Linked DNA regions of Homo sapiens: all the other regions are linked to region 3. Evidence: promoter capture Hi-C in human tissues and cell types (Jung and others, 2019). All regions are on one chromosome and are shown on one strand. Each heading gives the region's core, a stretch centred on a gene start or on the middle of the fragment in contact. The rest is flanking DNA. Distances are from core to core; before and after follow the strand shown.

Region 1 (5,202 bases), core at 435-2,934, 58 kb before region 3:
AATATTAAGCCTGCACTAAGACCTGGGACACCCTGTCTGCTGTGCAGTTAGGCTGACTTTGAAGCTTCTGATGGTTTTGAGCTTTTCTTTGAAGCCCAAGCAAGTGTTTATGGCATAAATTACAGGTATTTTCGCCTGGGGCTAGGTTGGGTTTGAGGTGTAATCAAGGTGCTGGACTGTCCTCCAGGCTCTGAATAAAGGAGAGGTAAGCTCCTTACAGACATTAGCTCATTAGCCAAGCAAGTGGACACAGAGCTGTTCCCATTTCATGGCAAGTGTAAAAATCCGGAGGAAGGCAGGAAGAGACAGTTCTGACTTCCTGTGCAATCCACCCATTTGGCCTTAAACAAGTAAAGACCAAATGAAAATGATGTGAGAGTTATTTTTTAGCTGGACATGTAACCAGATTCTAATCACCTTCTGAATTGATATTTAATTACACTGTAGTGTGTAGCCGATCTCCAGAGAGATAGAATGTTTGGCACAGTTACTCTTGAGTATCTTTTTGTCAACATCACTGCTTTCACTGCTTCTTTCAGTCAATATATTTTGTTTCCAGCTTCCTTCCTAGGCCTTTAATTCCTGCTGGGACAGGAATCTCTCAATTCACTCTTAAGCCTTGTCGAAACCTTTCTTCCTCCCATCTCCCACTCCATCCAGAAATAGAATTGTCCTCAGCAACAGAGGTTGGCAAGCTCTAAGCCGTATCTAAGTTTCAGAGACTGTTTTTTGTTGTTGTATCTTATTAGAAAAGTGCTTTAACGTTTTTCAGCAGATAATTTGGCATATCACGGCTGCTTTCACCTTGTGCCTGTGATGACAATCTATTTCTTGGTGACTAATAAGTTATTCCTGCTCTTACACCAAAGTGCACCTCCATGCTCTTTGAGAATGTGATGTTGGCTCTTATTCCAGCCTTTGTTCTCCCTTGTCAGGCAGGATAGCTGCTCTTGTTGCCTGACATGTTGATCATCCCTCTGCCTTTTTTTAGAATGGTAAGCTTTGAGGGAGCTGGGTTGTGGGAAACGTGATTCCAGCTCCCAGGAGCTTGACAATATCACACATCTTTACAGTAAGCAGATGAGAAGATGACAGTTGCTGCAGCACATCGAGGGTAGTCATGTTTTCCTTCCTGAGGATTTGGTGCTAGGTTGTAGCTGACCACATGCTGTCCGTTTACTAACATACACTGATAGTGAGCTGAGGAGCGGGGCCTGGGACCGCGGAATCAGGGGTCTGTGGTTTGTATGTAGCGTAGAAGCTGAGCTGATGTCTGATAGTGTCCCACAGGGCAAGAGGCCTCCACAAGAGACCAGCTGGACCTTTGTGAACCCTGGAGATGCAGCCAGGATGTACATTTCCATTCAAGGCTGAATGGACATGAATAACCTTGGTCGTTGCTTGGGTGTGGCCTCACTGGCAGTGATCCAAAACATGCTGGTGGAGGAGCAACGGTGATTTCATGCATGGGAATTCTCTGCAAACCAAGGGTAGATCATTTGTACTGAAAGCTTGTTGGATGAAGTCCTACCCTGAAGTAAATTGCATCGGTTTACTTGACCCTCACCTTTATTTTCCTAATGAGGAAGAAAGCTCTGGGTTAAACAGTTCTCAGTATTTTTGCTGTAAAACTTATAATGTAAAACAACAATGCTGTTTTAAAATCTAGTGATTAAAAATTATGTAAGTATGGAAAATTACTGTGACTTCTCTAACACTTCTAGACGAATTTGTGTTTTCCTGAGCACGGTAGCATTTCTGTGAAATTTTACAATGATGTTTATGTGCGTGTGCAGACATACTTCTTTTTGGGGCAGTGCTCGGGACACCTGGGTTTGTGAACTCCAGTAATTCAGCACCCAGCAGTTGGGACACCTGGACTTGGTTCCGTTTCTTTCTGACTTGTCTGACAAGCTGCCACATGAAGAAGGCCCCTGTCCATTACAGCTGAGGCGCATGTCCTCATTTTAACCTTTGTAGATATATAGTAATATTGATATGAATGCTTTTAGTGCCATAGAAATTGTGCCCATAGAATTGCCTCTTCTTCACTTTCTAAACTTCACTCAGTTTTCCTCTTGCTGTGTTCTTAGTATATTTGAGGACCTGAAATAGTTTGTAGTGTACACCTAAATTGCAATGCCTTCTATAAGTTTCATATACAGAGAGAGAGTTTAAGGTATTATGGAAAGTAAGATTTAACACCCTCAAAGCTCTTCATCTTGAGAGCCAATCTGCCAGGTTTAAATCCTGGTTCTGTTAACCGTGTATCCTTGGGCAAGTTATGTAATCTCTGTGTCTCAGTTACCTCATATAAATTTTGAACAATAATAGTCCTTCCCTCATAGGGTTACTGCGGGGATTGAATAAGTGAATAAATGTAAAGCCTCTAGAATAGTGCCTGGCACGTGGTAAGGACACAATAAATGTTAGCCATTCTCATTGTTAATGTTAGTTTTACTTATATGAATGGTGGAATTTTATGTAGATTGCTAATCAACTTTGACTCTGTTATTTTCATGTGAAATTATGGTTGAAAAGTTAGGGGCATGAGCCATTTATTGAAATGAGAAGTTTCAGTTTATAATTATAATTGTCTTTTTTTCCTTAGGACAAGACTTAAAACCTGTCTTGGATAGAGAATATTTAGCCATTTACCTAAAAATGGTATTTTTTACATGCAATGCATGTGGTGAATCAGTGAAGAAAATACAAGTGGAAAAGCATGTGTCTGTTTGCAGAAACTGTGAATGCCTTTCTTGCATTGACTGCGGTAAAGATTTCTGGTAAGCTTCACAGAATTCATGTAGATCCATAGTAAATCCAGATCAGTTTTGGAAGCCTTGGCGCCACAAAGCTTGGAAAAATAGTGGCAAATTTGAAGAATGAAATTAAGACTAAAAACTGGTATGTTCCATTGATTAAAACTGGTGTGATTCTTTCAAATGTGCTTTACTAGGCCGGGCGCAGTGGCTCAGGCCTGTAATCCCAGCACTTTGGGAGGCCAAGGTGGGTGGCTCATGAGGTCAGGAGTTGAAGACCAGCCTGGCCAACATAGTGAAACCCTGTCTCTACTAAAAATACAAAAATTAGTCAGGCGTGGTGGTGGGCGCCTGTAATCCCAGCTACTCGGGAGGCTGAGGCAGGAGAATCGCTTGAACCCAGGAGGCAGAGGTTGCGGTGAGCCGAGATTTCACCACTGCACTCCAGCCTGGGCAACAGAGCAAGTTAACCCCTTCTTGGGGGGGAGAAATGTGCTTTACGAAACAATTTGCTTTTTGAGGATATGTTAAAGAAAAGACTAGGGGAAGGGGAATTATGATGATTAGAGTGTTCAGTCAGTTGGTGACACTGGTTGCTATTGCATTGCCACTGTTTACAGACCCAGGGAACTAACTGCGTGGAAGATGGCTCCAGGGGTTTAGAGCCAGTTTCATTAGACCATGGGTATCACATGCCCATCACAGTGGAGAGATGGACTTATGAACCAGAAAGTGAATTTATGAGCTCACAGTGGGGCAGATGACTGGTAGCAGAGGAAACTATGTCCTCCCTAGAAAATCAGAGGTGCTGGTGGAAGTGAGGCTCTTCCTGGCCCCACGGGTGTGTCAGGAGACACTTCCACTGAGGAGGCCTCTGTGAATGTGAGGAGTTAGCGGGGAGGGACAGGACAGATCCTGCCTTAGACACCGGTTCTTCAGGTGGGTCGTTTGCAGAGGGCTCCCCTCTTGAATTTCATGTTGATTCCCCTTCAGCCTCAGAAGGTCCAGGCGAGAAGCTGGCTTCTGGCTGCATCTGCCCCAGTGTCCTCTGAGGCATTCGGATGGTACTGGCTAATACTCTCTTTTAATTCATTCTGGAGCAGTGATTTTTTTTGGAAACTGCTAACCTCTGTTCAGACGTAATCCTAGGAGGAAGCTTGATATATAAAGTAGGTTAAAATTGAGTTTTCATTAGGGGACTTTGCCCTGGACCTTGTCCCCAACATTTCCCTGAAGAACCCCATAGAGCTTTACAAAGATTATATGAGAGAGAATTTAGTTTTCTTTTTTCTCAGGACCCTAAGGGATCCAGAACTGTTGGTAACCTCATGCTGCCATTTTATATCTGTTTTTGATTTATTCTACAACTAATTATTGACTGTCTATTAGACATTGAGATTTTTATAATTTAAAAAAACTACCCTATTGCATAGAACTATTTTCTTGTTTATTCAGTATATGTACACTTATGACTTAAAAAAATACTGCCTATCAATTTAGCTTAAGGTGTTTATAAAAATGGGGGAAAAGTTTGGTGATGGGTTTTATATTGACGACTTTGGAGGAAGGGGGATGTGGTTCTGACCAGGAGGCTGTAAACATAATAAGTGAAATAGATGGGGTGCTTGTGTGATAGACACATGTGAAAATATACAGTGTAGACCACAGAAGATAGTGGCAGCATGCTGGTATTAGCGCCTCCAACTTGGGTATCAGTCTAATGGCAGAACTTTTGATCACTTTAAAGGGGCGATGACTATAAAAACCACGTGAAATGCATAAGTGAAGATCAGAAGTATGGTGGCAAAGGCTATGAAGGTAAAACCCACAAAGGCGACATCAAACAGCAGGCGTGGATTCAGGTAACGTCTCTCTAACTCATTGAGTAGCTTCCTCTGACAGCTTCCGCTTTCTTTGGAAGCCCAAGAGACTAAGAGTAAATGTGTCATCCCTGCAGACAAGCTCTGGAAACCTCATGTCCTAGGATAGACAGGTTGAACTAAAACCTCTTGAAAAAGAATTCTTTGGCTGGGCATGGTGGCTCACGCCTGTAATCCCAGCACTTTGGGAGGCCAAGGCAGGCGAGTCACGAGGTCAGGAGTTCAAGACCTGCCTAGACAACGTGGTGAAACCCCATCTCTACTAAAAATACAAAAAATTAGCCGGGCATAGTGGCGGGTGCCTGTAATCCCAGCTACTCAGGAGGCTGAGGCAGGAGAATCGCTTGAAGCCAGGAGGCAGAGGTTGCAGTGAGCCGAGGTTGTACTGGGTGACAGAGTGAGACTCCGTCTCAAAAAAAAAGAAAAAGAAAAGAAAGAAAAAAAGTTCTTTATTCTTCTAGCTGTTAAAACAGTTGCGGTGCATTATACCTTTAATCCATGTGTTTTGTTAATTTCTTGAAAAAAAAGTTTTAGAATTCTCATTAGCTTTCCCTTGGCTG
Region 2 (5,285 bases), core at 281-2,780, 58 kb after region 3:
AATTGAGATTATTAATTGTGGTAAGTCACGTTGCACCATTCCACCCTCCCTCCGCAGCTCGTTTACGACCCAAAACGGGGACACAAATGCCCCTGAGAGAGCAGCGGTATACTGGGATAGATAAGGATGGTCACTTGGTGGAGAGGCGTGCTTTTGGCTACCAGCCCATCACCTGCGTCAACCTTCTCAACTGGAAAAACAATACACAGAACTATACCGAAAAGCCACAAGCCCTAATTGATTTTCTCCAAGCTGTTATCCAGACCCACAACCCCACCTTGGCTGATTGGCACCAGTTGCTCATGTTCCTCTTTAACAGCGAAGAAAGGCGGAGAGTCCTCCAAGCAGTAACTAAGTGGCTAGAAGAACATGCACCAGCTGATTATCAAAACCCCCAAGAGTATGGAAGGACCCAGGTGTCAGGAACCGACCCCATTTGGACCCACATGAAAGAGAGGAGATTCAAAGGCTAAACTGAGACAAGGAAGCTCTCTTGGAAATATTAATGAGGGGAGCTCAGAAGGCCACAAACGTTAACAAGGTCTCTGAGGTCATTCAGGGAAAAGAGGAAAGTCCAGCACAATTCTACGAGAGACTGTGTGAGGCCTATCGTATGTATACTCCCTTTGATCCCGATAGCCCTGAAAATCAGCGTATGATTCACATGGCTTTAGTCCGTCAAAGCGCAGAAGACATGAGAAGAAAACTGCAGAAACAGGCTAGAATTAGCTGTTACTGCTAGCTAATTACTAGAAATAGCTAGCCAGGTGTTTGTAAACAGGGATGCAGTAAGCCCTAAGGAAAACAGCAAAGAGAATGGAAGTCAGGCCCGGCGACACGATGACCTGTTTGTCAGCTGCAGCAATCAGAGGGGCCCCCCCAAAGAGGCAAGGGAAGGGGGGTCCTGGGAAAGAAACTCAGCTTGGCTGTCAGAGTTTGCAGCGTAACCAGTGTGCTCATTGTAAAGAAATAGGACAGTGGAAGAACAAATGCCCTGAGCTCAAAAGAAAACAAGGTGACTCCGAGCAGGAGGCCCCAGAAAGAAGGAAGGGGCCCGGCTCAACCTGGCAGAAGGGTTATTGGACTGAGGGAGACCGGGCTCAACTGTCCCCAAAGAGTCTCTGGTCAGAATGACAGTCGGGGGTAAAGACATTGATTTTCTTGTAGATAGCGGTGCTGAACATTCGCTAGTAACCGCCACGGTCACCCCCTTTTGCAGAAAGACTATTGACATCATCGGAGTCACGGGGGTTTCAGGAAAGCAAGCTTTCTGCTTGTCCCGGACTTGTACTGTAGGAAGACACAGAGTCATTCAACAGTTTTGGTACATGCGTGACTGTCCCTCGACCTTTTTGGGAAGGGACTTGCTCAGCAAGCTGAGAGCCACTATCTCTTTGACAGAGCACGGCTCTTTGCTGCTCAAGTTACCCGGAACGGGAGTCATTATGATGCTTAAGGTCCCCCGAGAGGAGGAATGGAGACTTTTCTTAACTGAGCCGGGCCAAGAGAGAAGACCAGCTCTGGCTAAGCGGTGGCCAAGAGTACGGGCAGAAGACAACCCTCCAGGATTGGCCGGTTAAGACTGGGGCCCAGCCGGTGAGGCAAAAACAGGACCCGATCCCCAGAGAAGCCCTTCAAGGTATCCAGGTCCGTCTCAAGCACCTAAGAACTTTTGGAATTATTGTTCCTTGTCAGTCTCCATGCAACACTCCCCTCCTGCCTGTTACCAAGCCACCGACCAAGGACTACCTGCCGGTACAGGATTTGCGCTTGCTTCATCAAGCTACACTGACTTTACATCCAACAGTACCTAACCCGTCCACATTGTTGGGGTTGCTGCCAGCTGAGGACAGCGGGTTCACCTGCTTGGACCCGAAAGACCCTTTCTTTCCTATCAGATTAGCCCCAGAGAGGCAGAAGCTGTTTGCCTTTCAGTGGGAAGATCCGGAGTCAGGTGTCACTACTCAGTACACTTGGACCAACTTTCCCCAAGGGTTCAAGAACTCCCCCACCATCTTCGGGGAGGCGTGGGCTCGAGACCTCCAGAGGTTTCCCAGCAGAGACCTAGGCTGCGTGTTGCTCCAGTAGGTTGATGACCTTCTGCTGGGACACCCCACGGCAGTCGGGTGTGCCAAGGGAACAGATGCCCTACACCGGCACCTGGAGGAGTGTGGGTATCAAGTGTCCAAGAAGAAAGCTCAGATCTGCCGACAACATGTACATTACTTGGGATTTGCTATCCGATAGGGGTGGGAACGCAGCCCGGGATCAGAATGAAAGCAGGTCATTTGCAATCTAGCGGAGCCTAAGAGCAGAAGGCAGGTGAGAGAATTCTTAGGAGCTGTGGGGTTTTGTAAACTGTGGATCCCAAACTTTGCAGTATTAGCCAAGACTTTGTATGAGGTCACCAAGGGGGCGGGGACTGGGAACCTTTGGAATGCGGATCCCAACAACAGCAAGGCTTTCATGAGTTAAAGGAAAAACTTCTGGCAGCCCCAGCCCTGGGGCTACCCGATCTGACAAAGCCTTCTCCATTGTGTGCATCAGAGAGAGAAAAGATGGCTGCTGGACTTTGAACACAAACTGTGGGGCCCTGGCCGAGGCCGGTGGTCTACCTCTCTCAACAACTAAACGGGGTTACTAAAGGATGGTCCCCCTGTTGGAGGGCCTTGGCAGCAACCGCCCTGCGAGTACAAGAAGCAAATAAGCTGACTCTTGGGCAAAACCTGAAAATGAAGGCCTCCTGTGCTGTGGTGACTTTAATGAATACTAAAGGACATCATTGGCTAATGAATGCCACACTCACCCAGTACCATGCTTGGCTCTGTGAAAATCCCCGTATAACCATTGAAGTTTGTAACAGCCTACACCCCACCACCTTGCTCCCGGTATCAGAGAGCCCTGTCGAGCCTGGTTGTGTAGAAGTGTTGGACACAGTTGACTCTAGCAGACTTGACCTCCGGGGCCAGCCTTAGGAATCAGTAGACTGGGAACTATACGTGGATGGGAGTAGCTTCTTCAACCCCCAAGGAGAGAGAGGTGCAGGGTATGCAGTGATAACCCTGGACACTGTTGATGAAGACAGATCATTGCCCCAGGCCACGTCAGCCCAGAAAGCTGAACTCATTGCTTTCATTCGGGCCTTAGAACTCAGTGAGGGTGAGACTGTCAACATTTACACTGATTCTCGGTATGTCTTTTGAACCCTTCAAGTGCATGGAGCATGATAGAAAGAACAGAGCCTATTGAACTCTGGCAGAAAAGACAGAAAATATCAACAAGAAATTTTGCAATGATTAGAAGCAGTATGGAAACCCCGCAAGGTGGCAGTTATGCATTGCAGGGGACACCAGCAAGCTTCCACCTTGGTGGGCTTGGGGAATTCCCGCGCTGACTCAGAGGCTCGAAAAGCAGCATCTGCCCCCTTCGGGGCATCAGTGCTCCCTCAAGCACCTGATCTTGGACCTACTTCTTCTAAAGAAGAAAAGGACTTTCTCCAGGTAGAGGGAAGGACAACTGATGGAGGAAGGATGGATTCGGTTACCAGATGGGAGAGTAGCTGCGCCAGAGCTGCTAGGAGCTGCAGTTGTACTGGCTGTGCAAGAAACCACCCATCGGGGTCAGGAGTCACTGGAAAAGTTGTTAGGCCGGTATTTCTACATCTCACCTTTGTCAGCCCTTGCCAAAACGGTGAGGCAGCGGTGTGTTACCTGCCGACAGCATGATGGGAGGCAAGGTCCAGCCGTTCCGCCCGGCATACGAGCTTACGGAGCAGCCCCCTTTGAAGGTTTCCAGGTGGACTTCACAGAGATGCCAAAGTGTGGAGGTAACAAGTATGTACTAGTTCTTGGGCGCACCTACTCTGGGTGGGTGGAGATCTGGGTCTTCCTCCCCAAACCTGGAAGTTAGCAACGAAATCACAGAGGGGGTGTACACACCCTGCGACATGGGAAGTAATATGATCCTCTCTCCACCTGGATACTGGGAAAGATAACACAGCGCGGGTATACATTTCCTACGCTGTTGCGAGTAATATCATTCTTTTCCTTTCTGGATATTAGGGAGAATATCACAGGGGTGCTGTACAATTACTTCGACATTGGGAGTAACATCATCCTCTATTTTCCTGGATATTGGGCACAAAAACACAAAAGGGTGAACAATCCCTGGGATATCTGGAGTAATATTATCCTCTCCCCTCACGATTATTAAGAACAATATCGTAGGTGTGGGGGATGTACACCCCCTTTCATGTTTGATATCATCCTCTTTCCCCCTGGATATTAGGAACAATATCAGGAAGGGATGTACAGACCCTGCGACCTTTGCTGTCATATAATTCTCTCTCCCATAGATATTAGGAAAAAATGTCCCTGGGGATGTGAACAGCCCTGCGATATTGAGAGTAGTATCATCCTCTCCCCTTGCATACTGGGAAAAATATCACAGGTGGGGTGTACTGCCTCTGTGATATTGGGAGTGAAATTTTCCTCTCTTCCCCTGGACATTAGGAAGGGTATCAGAGGGGGAGGGTGTACATTCCCTGCGACATTCAACGTAACCTTATCCTCTGCCTCCCACGGTAATCAGAACAATATTACAGGAGGGGTGTACACCCTCTGCGATATTGAGAGTCATATAATCCTCTTTCGCTCGGGATATTAGGAACAATATCACAGGGTTCTGTACCCCCCCTGCGATATTGGGAGTCATATCATCCTCTCTCCCTGTGGATATTAGGAAGAGTATCACAGGGCTGTGGAAACCCCCAGCGGTCCTGGGAGTAATATCATCCTCTCTCCCTCTGAAAATAGGAAGATTTTCACAGGGGTGTGTTCAAGCCCTGCAATATTGGCAGTAAGATCATCCTCTCCACCCAGGAAATGACTAACAAGGTCACGGGGGGATGTACTCCCGGTGCGGAGAGTGAGAGCCAGCCCCTCTTGCCCGCCTGGCTCTTAGGACCCGCGATGGACTCACAGCCTGTTTATCGTATTGTGAGTAATATCATCTCCCGCTCTGGGGATTTTGAACTGTTTCACAGACCGGTGTACACCCTTTGTGTACAGAGGTTGTACACCGGTCTGTATTGGGAGTCATATCATCCTCTTCCTCCCTCAATATTAGGAACAATATCACAGGGGTGTTTCTACTCCCTGGGATATCGGGTGTCATGTCCTCCACTTCCACGTTGCAATTAGAAACAATATCATTGGGGGCGTGTCCACCTTCTGTGATATTGAAACTAATATTATCCTCTACTTTCCAGGATCATGGGAACGATA
Region 3 (5,655 bases), core at 1,333-3,832:
CTCAAAAAACCAACCAACCAACCAAACAAACAAACAAAAAAGTGCAGGTAGCCCAGAGACAGGCATTCCACTTGATTTTCAGATGGTGACTGAGCTTTATTTATCTTTGTACTCAACGGGTTAAGGTACTGCTAGCTGCTGTAACATTTCAGACTTTGGTGGCTTAGCACAATGGAAGTTTATTTCTCACTGATGTAAGGTCCAGCTTCGGGAGGAAAAGCCGCCTCACTAGTCACTGGGGAGACACGCAGACAGGCTCTTCCATCTTCAGCTCAGGCTCCCAGGTTGCTCTGGCTGTTGGTAGGAAGAGGAGGGGAGAAGGTGGAGGGTCCCTAGTAGGTTTGCTGGATCTTCTCTCTGGATTGCCTTTCCAGACCCCTGCTCCCTTCCGCCTGACCATCCACTCCTAAGCCTAAAGAATGTGCAGGAGGCTGGACGTGGTAGCTGGAGCCTGTGATCCCAGTGCTTTGGGAGGCTGAGGTAGGAGGATGGCTTGAGCCCAGGAGTTTGAGATCAACCTGAGCAACATAGTGAGACCCGTCTCTACAAAAAAACAATTTAAAAAAAATGAGCCAGGCGTGGTAGCACACACCTGTAGTCCCAGCTATTCGGGAGGCTGAGGCGGGAGGAGCACTTGAGCCCCAGAATTCGAGGCTGTAGTGAGCCATAATCACACCACTTCATTCCAGCCTGGGAGACACAGGGAGACCCTGTCCTTATTAAAAGATAAAAATAAGAGAAAGAAAGAAAGAAAGAAGACTGTGCAGGTGTTGCCTCCTCCCTGAACCTCTCAGCCTTCCTGCAGACCTGGACTCCTCCCAGGCCCCTGGTTGTAGCCCTGCTCAAGGGTGTTGTGCTGCTTACTCTGTCCCCACTCCCAAGCTCTTAGAAGTTGAGGGCTAAGTCTCACAGGTCATGATCCCCAGCTTCCCAGTGAGGGCTCATTAGCTGTTTGTTTATTGCTGTTTCTCTACCTGAACATCAGCTCCACCTGAGCAGAGCCTTTCATAGCTGAAAACCCAGCTGCTAGAACAGAGAGCAGCAAATGATTCATAGGTCAACACATACATATGTGTTGATCAAATGCATGAATGCGTGAATTGGAAGAATGATGGTGGCAAGGTAAGGTCCCCCAGGTTGACTCCTTGCTAGCCCAGGACTCCCCACCCCTCCTTTACTAGTCAGGACCTGCTATTGCAATTTGCTGCGCTTAGCGCAAAACAAAAACATGGGCCCTCTTGTTCAAAAATTAAGAATTTCAAGACGGCAAGAACCTTAAACCAAGAGCGAGAGGGTGTCTTCCGGGCCCAGCCCCGGGCTGCTGCACGGTGGGATGTGGGCTTGCCCCAGGCTCGCTCCCAACTCCCCTCTCCAACCTGCGGCTGGGGGGCTGGGGTCCGGCGCCTCCTGTCAGCCACGCCAGACCCGTAGAACGCTCTTCAGCTGAAACTTCCCAGACCTCCACTTAGCGGCACCCGAGCGGGGCTCCCTGGCAGACTCAGTCCCCTTCCGGGAGCAGGCGGGTGCCAGGCGGGCACCGGGGCTTTGGAAGGGGCTAGTGAAGACGCTTGGGCGCCGGTAGCAACAGGGCAGACCCCGGGGCGTCCCTCATTCCAGCTCCTCTGGGTCCAGAACGGCTGCCGCTCCTTTGGGGGAGGGTGCGGGATGGTCTCTTTTCTTAGAAAGTGGCTCAGGTCTTATTCTGCGCCTGGGCATCTCGCAGCCGACACACAGGCACACCAGACGGACAAACAGAAAAACCCACAGAAGGCGGCCCCTCCCCCAATTCAGAGAGCCAGTGACGGGCGCTCCTCCACCCCTAACCAGACACACCCGATAACAGACGGCCAGACACAGAGTGACCCGCACAGAGAAGACAATACAGAAATACGCAGGGACGAGTACAGACCGTCGGACGCTCGGACACGGACGCAGGCAGGATCCCCTGGACCTCTGGGTTCCCCAACGGAGACCCTCGGGGAAGGCCCGGAGCATCGCAAGCCCCTGTGGAGCCCCGGACGCCCCGCTTGGCAGCAGCCACGCCCCCCGCGCACACCCCCCTCGGGCTGGCTCCGGGAGACCCCCTCTCCCCAGTCCCGCAACCCCGGGACCCCGGCAGGCACTTCTTGTCACCCAGCGTTTCCGGGGCGCCCGGACAGGGGCTGGGTGGGCGGGCGTCGGCTCAGGGGTGAGGGCTGCAGACGGCGGGCGGGGGCCGGGCGCGCGGGCGGAGGTGCGGGAGGACGCGCTAGTGTCGCGGCAGGGCTGGCCAGTGTCCCAGGGATCAGGAGCGGGGAGCTGTCCGCGTGGGTCCCGGAGGGGGCAGATGGCTGCCCCGGGCGTTGCCCAGTGAGGGGCAGCGGGCAAGGGAGCTCGTAGAATCCCAGGTCAGCAGGGTGGGGCGCTGGGTAAGTGGACAGGGTGGTACCTTGACGGAGGACGAAGGGGCAGAAGAGGGGAGGGCGGGCGTCGGGAGGTGACAGGAGAGGGGGCAGGTTGGCAGGGGCGTGGGGTAGGAATCGGAAGGGAGTTGAAAAGGGAGGTGCTGGTTGGCAGAGGCGTCGGGGCAAGGACAGGAGCCAGGAGCGCAGGCGGGGCCCGACGGCAGCCACCCCCGGGACCAGACTTGGCGCGGGTGTCTCGAAGATGCTCGAGGGCCTGGGGTCGCCCGCCTCGCCCCGGGCAGCTGCAAGCGCCTCGGTCGCAGGGTCGTCGGGGCCAGCGGCCTGCTCGCCTCCCTCGTCCTCGGCCCCGAGGTCCCCGGAATCCCCGGCCCCCCGGCGGGGCGGTGTGCGCGCCAGCGTCCCACAGAAACTGGCCGAGATGCTGAGCAGCCAGTATGGGCTGATCGTGTTCGTGGCGGGGCTGCTGCTGCTGCTGGCCTGGGCCGTGCACGCCGCGGGCGTGAGCAAGAGCGACCTGCTGTGCTTCCTGACGGCGCTCATGCTGCTGCAGCTGCTGTGGATGCTGTGGTACGTGGGCCGCAGCTCCGCGCACCGCCGCCTCTTCCGCCTCAAGGACACGCACGCGGGTGCCGGCTGGCTGCGCGGTGAGTCCAGGCGCCGGGCGAGCGGGTCTCCGCCTCCTCGCCCGCTGGCTGCATCCTGAGGCTGCTCTGCGCCCTTCCTACCGCTGCCGTCTTCCCTTCAGCCTTTTCTGCCTTGGTCTCTCTGTGCATCTTTCCTAGCTTTCCTGTCTGCCCTTCCTTTCCTCTCTCTCTCTCTGAAGCTTGGGTCGCCGCAGGAGCCTCCTCTCCGCCTCCAGACGCTTCCATCATTACAGCCACAGTTACAGAAACCTCTCTTGTCCTTCCCTGACTTAAAGCCATGCAGTGGCCCTACTGACCCCATGATGGAGGCCACGCTCCCTCTCCTGACACTCAGAGCCTTCTAGCACTCGGCCCCCGAGGGCCCGTTTCCTTTGATCCCCTCCTTTGTTCTCATCCTGTGCTGGGGTCATTCTCGCGAACTTTCTCGCCCATCGCAGGACCTCTGCCTCTGCACATTCGGCACCTTCGGTTCTCTCCTCCAGGAATGTCTTTTCCACTTTCCCACCTGCCCCTCTGCTTTCCGAGACAGGGCTCAGGCCTCACCCCATTCTCCCCGCGAAGCTTCTCCGACCCCCTTCTCCTCCCGGCTTTGCAGGTCTGACCACATGCCCCCAGCCCGCACTGGGCTCCAGTGTTCTTGTCAACATGTCTGTACCCTCCACTCCACTGGGGAGCTCTGTGATCCCTGTCTCTCGGTCCTAGAGCCACCTCAGGGCCTGGCACGAAGTGGGTGTTGAGAAAATGAGGGGGTATGAATGAAATAATGAATGCGTGGATGCAGGGTGGGGCAAAGAGGGATAGAGGCTCCTGCTGGTACTCACAGGCATTGGCTGAAATTGTCAAGATAGGAGCTCTTTCTTCCTCAAGGGGCTGCCACATTTTTTTTTTTTTTTTTGAGACAATGTTGCTCTATCTCCCAGGCTGGAGTGCAGTGGCACAATCACAGCTCACTACAGCCTCTTCCTCCTGGGCTCAAGCAATCCTCCCACTTCAGCCTCCTGAATAGCTGGAACTATAGACACACATGGCCTTGCCCAGCTAAGTTTTGTTATATTTTGTACAGATAGGGCCTCGTTGTGTTGTCTCCTTTTCTCAAACTCCTGGCCTCCAGGGATCCTCCTGCCTTGGCCTCCCAAAATGCTGGGATCACAGGCATGAACCACTGTGCCTGGCTGGGGCTGCCAGTCTTGAATGGGAGACAGACATGGTGCAGGTGAAAGGGAGGAGGCCATGGGGAGCATGCTTGTGAAGAAAGCTTCTGTCTGAGTAACCTTCCCAGGAGAGGCCAAGTGCATTTCACACCACGTGGTCCAGGCACATCACACATTGCCACTTGGACTCTCATATTAGACCTGAATTTAAATCTCCATTAGAGTGGGGCTTCCGTGTTCCTTGCATGCATGACCTTGGGCAAGTTACCTGATTGCCTTCCTTACCCTGAACCCTGGTTTCAGCATCTGTAGAATGGGGATCTCAAACTGGATAAGATCCAGTGACTGATGAGGTGGCTGCCCAGCACACACTAGGCCTCCTTTCCACATTTCTTTCAAAGGTCCTGGCCAGATGCCACCTTCTTCACAAATGCCTGGCAGGAATTACTCCTCACTTCTATGGGCCACCATGGCCCCCTTTCTGTAAAGCTCTTTTGGTCCTTGTCCGTTTCTGCCTTGTATTATGACTGTTGGATATTAGCCTTACCATCCAGAAGAGATTTTAGACTTCTTAGGCTCAGGGACTGGATCTAGTTCATCTTGCTTTTGGGGAAATTTGACACCATTGCAGCGTGGCCCAAATTCCTGTTCTGAAAATGGTTGTTTTAGGGAAGTTAATGGTTTTGTGACTCTGTGAATGACAGTGAATCTGGTGCTATTTAAAACAAGGCACAAAGTGTTATTTTAGGATATTGACTTACACAGGCTAAAAAGTATTATACACATGAGCCTTTACCTGTGTTTTCCTATAGTCAAAGCCCCTTTTTTGTTCCTTCTTTCTCTCCTCCATCCTTTTTTCTCCCTTCTTCCTTCCCTCCTTCTCCTTTCCTTTCTTCCTCCTCCCTCCCTCCCTATTCCCTCGCCTTCCCTCCTCTCTGCCTTTCCTTCTTTATTTTTTTTTTTTGAGATGGAGTCTTGCCCTGTCGCCCAGGCTGGAGTGCAATGGTGCGATCTCGGCTCACTGCAACCTCCACCTCCCGGGTTCAAACGATTCTCCTGCCTCAGCCTCCCAAGTAGCTGGGATTATAGGCGCCTGCAACTATGCCCAGCTATTTTTTGTATCTTTAGTAGAGACGGGGTTTCATCATGTTGGCCAGACTGGTCTCAAACTCCTGACCTCGTGATCTGCCTGCCTCAGCCTCCCAAAGTGCTGGGATTACAGGTGTGAGCCACCATGCCTGGCCTCCCTTTCCTTATTTTTTTCCTCATTTTCTTTCTCTCTTCTCCTCCTTCATCTTTCCTTCCTCTCTTCCTTCCTCCATCCTTCTCTCCACTGTCCCTCTTCCCTCTCTCTCTCCTCTCTTTCTCTTCCTTCCTCTCTTCCTCTCTCCCCTGCTGTTTTTGTTTTTGTTTTTGTTTTTGAGATGGAATCTCACTCTGTTGCCAAGGCTGGAG
Region 4 (5,524 bases), core at 1,057-3,556, 33 kb before region 3:
GGAAGAGACAATACTGAGGCCAACACAAGGAGTGTTATGAGGTGTGCTGGTTAGAACGTGGGCCTGAGAAGGACTGCTTAATTTTGCCTGGGTGGGGATGGAGGGCACAAGGTTATTAAAGGCCCCCGGATTGATTCTTGGAATTTAAATTGTTATCTATTAACTGCTTGATGTTTTAAGACACTTTCCATATTCCTGCCACTCTATTTTCACCCAGGCTGTATGAGGTGACATGTTCTAAACAGGGTCCATGTGCCAGAATGAGACTCAAGGTTGAATCTGAGCTTTGTATCTCACTCGCCAAAGGTCCCTGCGTGGGCAGGTTACTTAGCATCTCTAAACCTCAGGGGTTTTTCTCTTACACCAACTTTCTATGGTAGATAGAGTGAAATTGATATACTGTACACAAAGTAGCACATAGTAGGTGTCTGAAAATATCTCCTCTTAAAGTACAGGAAGTACACAGACCGAGCAGTGTCTACCATTGGTTGTCCGAGGCACTGGCCCAACAGACAGGATCTGACGCCTTACTTTTTCATGCACAAAGCTCTCTAAGTGACTGGACTGCAGCAAAGAAGAATCAGCGAGGCCAAACCATACAGCATTTAAATGAAGAAATCCACTTCAATTTTTGAAGTAGCACTCTAGTTTACAGTTACTGTGTAACTATTTTTCTGAACAAAGACACAATCCTACGACTGCCAAACCTATATGAGTTAATATTTTAATGCAGGTTTCTATTGAAGTATACATATGTAAAATGTAAATGTACTGCTTCATGAGTTTCACAGAGTGCCCACACCTAAATCAAGAAACAGACTATTCGGCCCACCTTACTTCTGTCTGCATGGGTTGGTTTTGCCTGGTTTTGAACTTGATGTAAATGAAACCACACAGCATGTATCTGTTTGTGTCTTGCTTCTTTCACCCAACATTCCATGAGATTCATCTCTTGATGAAATGTTGGATTTTACAGACTGGTGTGGTGGCCCATGCCTGTAATCCCAGTGCTATGGGAGGCAGAGGCGGGAGAATCACTTGAGCCCGGGAGTTCAAAAGCAATCTGGGCAACATAGCGAGACCCCATCTCTACAAAAAATAAAAAATAAAAAAATTAGCCAGGTGTGGTGGCACATGCCTATAAGCACCTGTAGTCCCAGCAACTCCAGAGGCTGAGGCGGGAGGATTGTTTCAGCCCAGGAGTTGGAGGTTGCAGTGAGCATTAATCATGTCACTGCATTCCAGCCTAAATGAGAGAGTGAGACCCTGTCTCAAAAAATAAAAATAAAGGCAGGGCTCGGTGGCTCACGCCTGTAATCCCAGCACTCTGGGAGGCCGAGGCGGGTGGATCACTTGAGGTCAGGAATTCAAGACCAGCCTGGCCAACATAATGAAACCCCATCTCTACTAAAATTACAAAAATTAGCTGGGTGTGGTGGCACGCACCTGTAATCCCAGCTACTTGGGAGGCTGAGGCTGGAGAATCGCTTGAATCAGGGAGGCAGAGGTTGCAGTGAGCAGAGATTACGCCACTGTACTCCAGCCTGGGCAACAGAGCAAGACTCTGTCTCAATCAATCAATCAATCAATCAATAAAATGTTCAGCTGTTTCAGGGTGGCTAGGTTTCTCATGAAATCGATGACATCTTCTCCTCATCTCCTAGTGTGTACATACACTTTCTCATTGCTACTGAGTATATGCCCACAGGTGGCAGTACTAAGTCATAGGGTATATTTCAGCTTTAACAGATGTAGCCAGTTTTGAGAGGGCTTTTTAGCAGTTTATACTGCCACCCTCAGTATTTGAGGGTATATGCATTTATTTTGCCAAAAAATGCACCGAAATTTAGTATTACTCCCATTTCCATCTCTGTGTTTATCTTTTCAAAATAGCTCTCTTATTGGATGCTGTCAACCAAAGTCACCGGGTACCACTGGATGATAAAACTGTGGAAAATGGTGACTCCATTTTCCCAGCGGATTTCAGTCTTGGATGATGTTAAAAATAAAACGGAACAGTAATTTCTTCCAGCTTAAAGAATAGCATCTGCCTTCCCCTGTCCTTTTCATATTTAAGAAACTTGAGATCTTGCTCTCGGCTCACTTATCATTAGATTTAACAGCTTCTGTAATTTGGGGTTGGACCCTGCTTCTCACTGTCTGTCTCGATTACAACACAGACGATTTCTGAGAAAAAGAAAAATGGTATGTACTGGTGAAAAGAGAAGTTTCTTTGTTTTCTTTTGAGTGCAAATGCTACTTTCATTTCTTGTTGCTGTTATGGGATCTAGGGAAGCTTTAATTTATTCCCTCTGATACAAGTGATTAAACTGCCCCTTGGGTAGTTTAAATTGTAATTGCTGAGTAAATACATATGTTTGTCAGAGTTTAAAGGTCACACATCGCTCAGGAGGTCAGGCCTTTGTTTGGCCACAGAGCGGGTATTGTGAGCTGTTGAAATACCACCTTTGCTGCCCTCCTCCCTTCCCGGTGACCTCAGGCCGACTTCTGTCCATTGTAGATCAAAGGTAGGGAAAGATTCGGTTCCACTGAGCAGTTGCTAACAGCATGGCTTTGGGGATTTGGCAGCAAATTTGAATCAGGATACTATAGTAGTAATGTCATAGGATAGCCCCGCTCAGACTGATTTTATACTGAACAGGGAGGTATTATACAGCTGAACTTGAAACGGTAGTCTCTCTTGCAGGTTTCAGAAAAAAGTTAAGGTCATAGAATTTCTCAGTTTTAGTGTCCCTGCGTAACACCTCTTAAGCCTTTTGGCATCTGTGGCCATGAGATTCTAATTTAGATGCTAGGAGAGCTGGCATAAACATTTATAGCACTTGGCTATTTTTTGCTTAATTTATCCAGATTTCATGATGTTCTACAAAAGTGTGCCTGGCACTCTACTGTGTGAATGAGTTTGAGAGTTGTGGGTCTATAGGGATAGGCAGTAACTTCAAGACAATTGTAATGATGGCAGCTACTGTATCTTTTTTTTTTTTTTTTTTTTTTTTTTTTTTGAGACAGAGTCTCACTGTCACCCAGGCTGGAGTACAGTGGCATGATATCAGCTCACTGCAACCTCTGCCTCCCAGGTTCAAGTGATTCTTGTAACTCAGACTCCCGAGTAGCTGGGACTACAAGGGCACATCACCACGCCCGGCTAATTTTTGTATGTTTTGTAGAGACGGGGTTTTGCCATGTTGGCCAGGCTGGTCTTGAACTCCTGACCTCAGGTGATCTGCCCGCGTCGGCCTCCCAAATTGCTGGGATTACAGGCGTGAGCCACCGCGCCCGGCCTAGCTACTGTATCTTGGGGGCTCTTTGTGCCAGGTGCTGTGTCGGTTCCTGAATGTCAGGTCTGCTTCTTGCCGCATCACAGCACCCAGGCTGGGATTCTAATATGGTTGTCCTTTCCCTCACAGCTGGGCATTCTGCTCACGGTTGCCAGTCTTGAAAGGCTGACAGTTTCTCTCCTTTGTCTATTCTTTTCTTTCTTTCTTTCTTTCTTTCTTTCTTTTTTTTTTGAGAAAGAGTTTTGCTCTTGTTGCCGAGGCTGGAGTGCAATGGCGCGGTCTCGGCTAGCCACAACCCCTGCCTCCCGGGTTCAAGCAGTTCTTCTGCCTCAGGCTCCTGAGTAGCTGGGATTACCGGCATGCACCACCATGCCCGGCTAATTTTGTATTTTTAGTAGAGATGGGGTTCTCCATGTTGTTCAGGCTGGTCTCGAACTCCTGACCTCAGGTGATCCACCTGCCTTGGCCTCCCAAAGTGCTGGGATTACAGGCGTGAGCCACTGCTCCTGGCAACACTTTGATTTTTCTAAGGTTGGCAGAGGGATTTCCTCATACGCTGTGTTCAAACATGTGTTTGCACATTGACGTTTGTGATTTTCTTTTTTTTAATTATTTTTATACGTTCTGGGGTACATGTGCAGGATGTGTACGTTTGTTGCATAGGTAAACATGTGCCATGTGGTTTGCTGCACAGATCATCCCATCACCTAAGTATGAAGCCCAGCATGCATTAGCTCCTTTCCCTAATGTTCTCCCCAACCCCACCGCTGCCCTCCAGTAGGCCCCAGTGTGTGTTGTTCCCCTCTCTGTGTCCGTGTGTTCTCATTGTTCGGCTTCCACTTGTAAGTGAGAACATGTGGTGTTTGGTTTTCTGTTTCTGCATTAGTTTGCTGAGGATAATGGCTTTCAGCTTCATCCATGTCCCTGCAGAGGATATTCTCTTGTTCCTTTTGATGGCTGCATAGTATTCCATGGTGTATATGTACCACATTTTCTTTTTCCAGTCTATCATTGATGGGCATTTGGGTTGGTTCCAAGTCTTTGCTATTTTGAATAATGCTGCAATGAACATATGTGTGCATGTATCTTTATAATACAATGATTTATATTCCTGAGTATATACCCAGTAATGGGATTGCTGGGTCAAATGGTATGATTTTCCTTTTTACATTAAAAAAAATTTCTTTCGTTCCTTTCTCTTTTGTGAGAAATCACACCCGGATGTCATTTTCACTACTTCTTGATGAGGAGGTGTGGAGTCTCTCAAGGGGATGACATGCAGATTCTTACTGGCATAAAAGTGACCCTCAGTTGGCGAATACCTTATTGAATTTCTGTACTATTATTGGGCATGTCCTAAGCCCTCAAGCAAGGGATGGCAAATAGATTCTATCTGACACTACAACTAACTCTAGTCAACTGGCAGTGATTTTCCGGTGCTCTTCAGGATTTTGAGGCTTCCACCTGGCTGTCAAAGGGAAATAAATGCTGCATTTGATCAGCAACATCTGCCACGGGTCTGGGTGGAAAGGGGCACCCAGGTTGCCACATCTTCCCTCCTGGCTTCTCATCTATGGAGATGGCCAGCACCATGGAGCCAGCATTCAGCAAGAATGGCCCCAGGGAAGGGAAAAGGAAATGGCTGCGCTGCCATCAAGAGTGGGCCGAGGTAAATATCCGGTGCAGCATGACGCAGTGGGATTGGAGTGCAGGTGCACAATCCCGTGCAGCATATAATCAGTTATGTAACCATGTTATGGGTGGGCTCATCCCCTGGCTCTGAGCCGCTATTGTCTGTGAAGCGCACAAATGTATCACGAACACTGTGAGAAGGCATGCATAATGGAGTTGGCTGCCTTGCAGGTGGGGGTGGGTGGGTGGAGCCAGGAAATGGTGAGCACACTGGGGAGTGCAGCTGCAGACTGTGGAGCTGGCACTGAGTGGGGCTGCTGAGCAGGCAGCCAAGACAAAGGCTGACACAGAGAATAAAGCCATATCCCACCTGTATAAGATCCCTCGAGTGTTCTTTCAGCTACCCGCCACCGGTCCACCTACTCCCCTCGGACCCCAGCTTGGGTTGGAAGCTGACACTGACTTTCTTTCTTTTCTGTGAGGTGGAGTCTAGCTCTGTTGCCCAGGCTGGAGTGCAGTGGTACGATCTCGGCTCACTGCAACCTCCGCTTCCCAGGTTCAAGCGATTCTCCTGCCTCAGCCTCCAGAGTAGC

Evidence for each region. Contacts are between HindIII fragments. The study calls those that stand out against the background at their distance.
Region 1: a fragment that was not itself captured here is called in contact with the fragment with the promoter of OTOP1 in region 3 in 8 of the 25 tissues and cell types used here (H1 embryonic stem cells, aorta, dorsolateral prefrontal cortex and 5 more).
Region 2: a fragment that was not itself captured here is called in contact with the fragment with the promoter of OTOP1 in region 3 in 3 of the 25 tissues and cell types used here (bladder, mesenchymal stem cells and thymus).
Region 4: a fragment that was not itself captured here is called in contact with the fragment with the promoter of OTOP1 in region 3 in 1 of the 25 tissues and cell types used here (thymus).

What each region holds. Positions count from the first base shown.
Region 1 is chr4:4,281,205-4,286,406 of GRCh38, reverse strand. LYAR (Ly1 antibody reactive) reads left to right here. Exons shown (of 10, transcript NM_017816.3): 3 at 2,612-2,786; 4 at 4,510-4,624. The coding sequence starts at 2,665. Among named protein-coding and RNA genes, the nearest start is that of LYAR, 6.3 kb to the left of the region's middle. The HindIII fragment of the contact is 5,768 bases long and covers 1-4,568 here.
Region 2 is chr4:4,165,515-4,170,799 of GRCh38, reverse strand. No RefSeq gene overlaps it. Among named protein-coding and RNA genes, the nearest start is that of OTOP1, 59 kb to the left of the region's middle. The HindIII fragment of the contact is 7,512 bases long and covers 1-5,285 here.
Region 3 is chr4:4,223,856-4,229,510 of GRCh38, reverse strand. It overlaps OTOP1 (otopetrin 1), which reads left to right and starts at 2,582. Exons shown (of 6, transcript NM_177998.3): 1 at 2,582-3,049. The coding sequence starts at 2,647. RefSeq lists enhancers at 1,590-2,210, 2,832-3,452. The HindIII fragment of the contact is 12,453 bases long and covers 1-3,419 here.
Region 4 is chr4:4,256,615-4,262,138 of GRCh38, reverse strand. No RefSeq gene overlaps it. Among named protein-coding and RNA genes, the nearest start is that of TMEM128, 11 kb to the right of the region's middle. RefSeq lists enhancers at 2,323-2,617, 4,599-5,099. The HindIII fragment of the contact is 3,451 bases long and covers 581-4,031 here.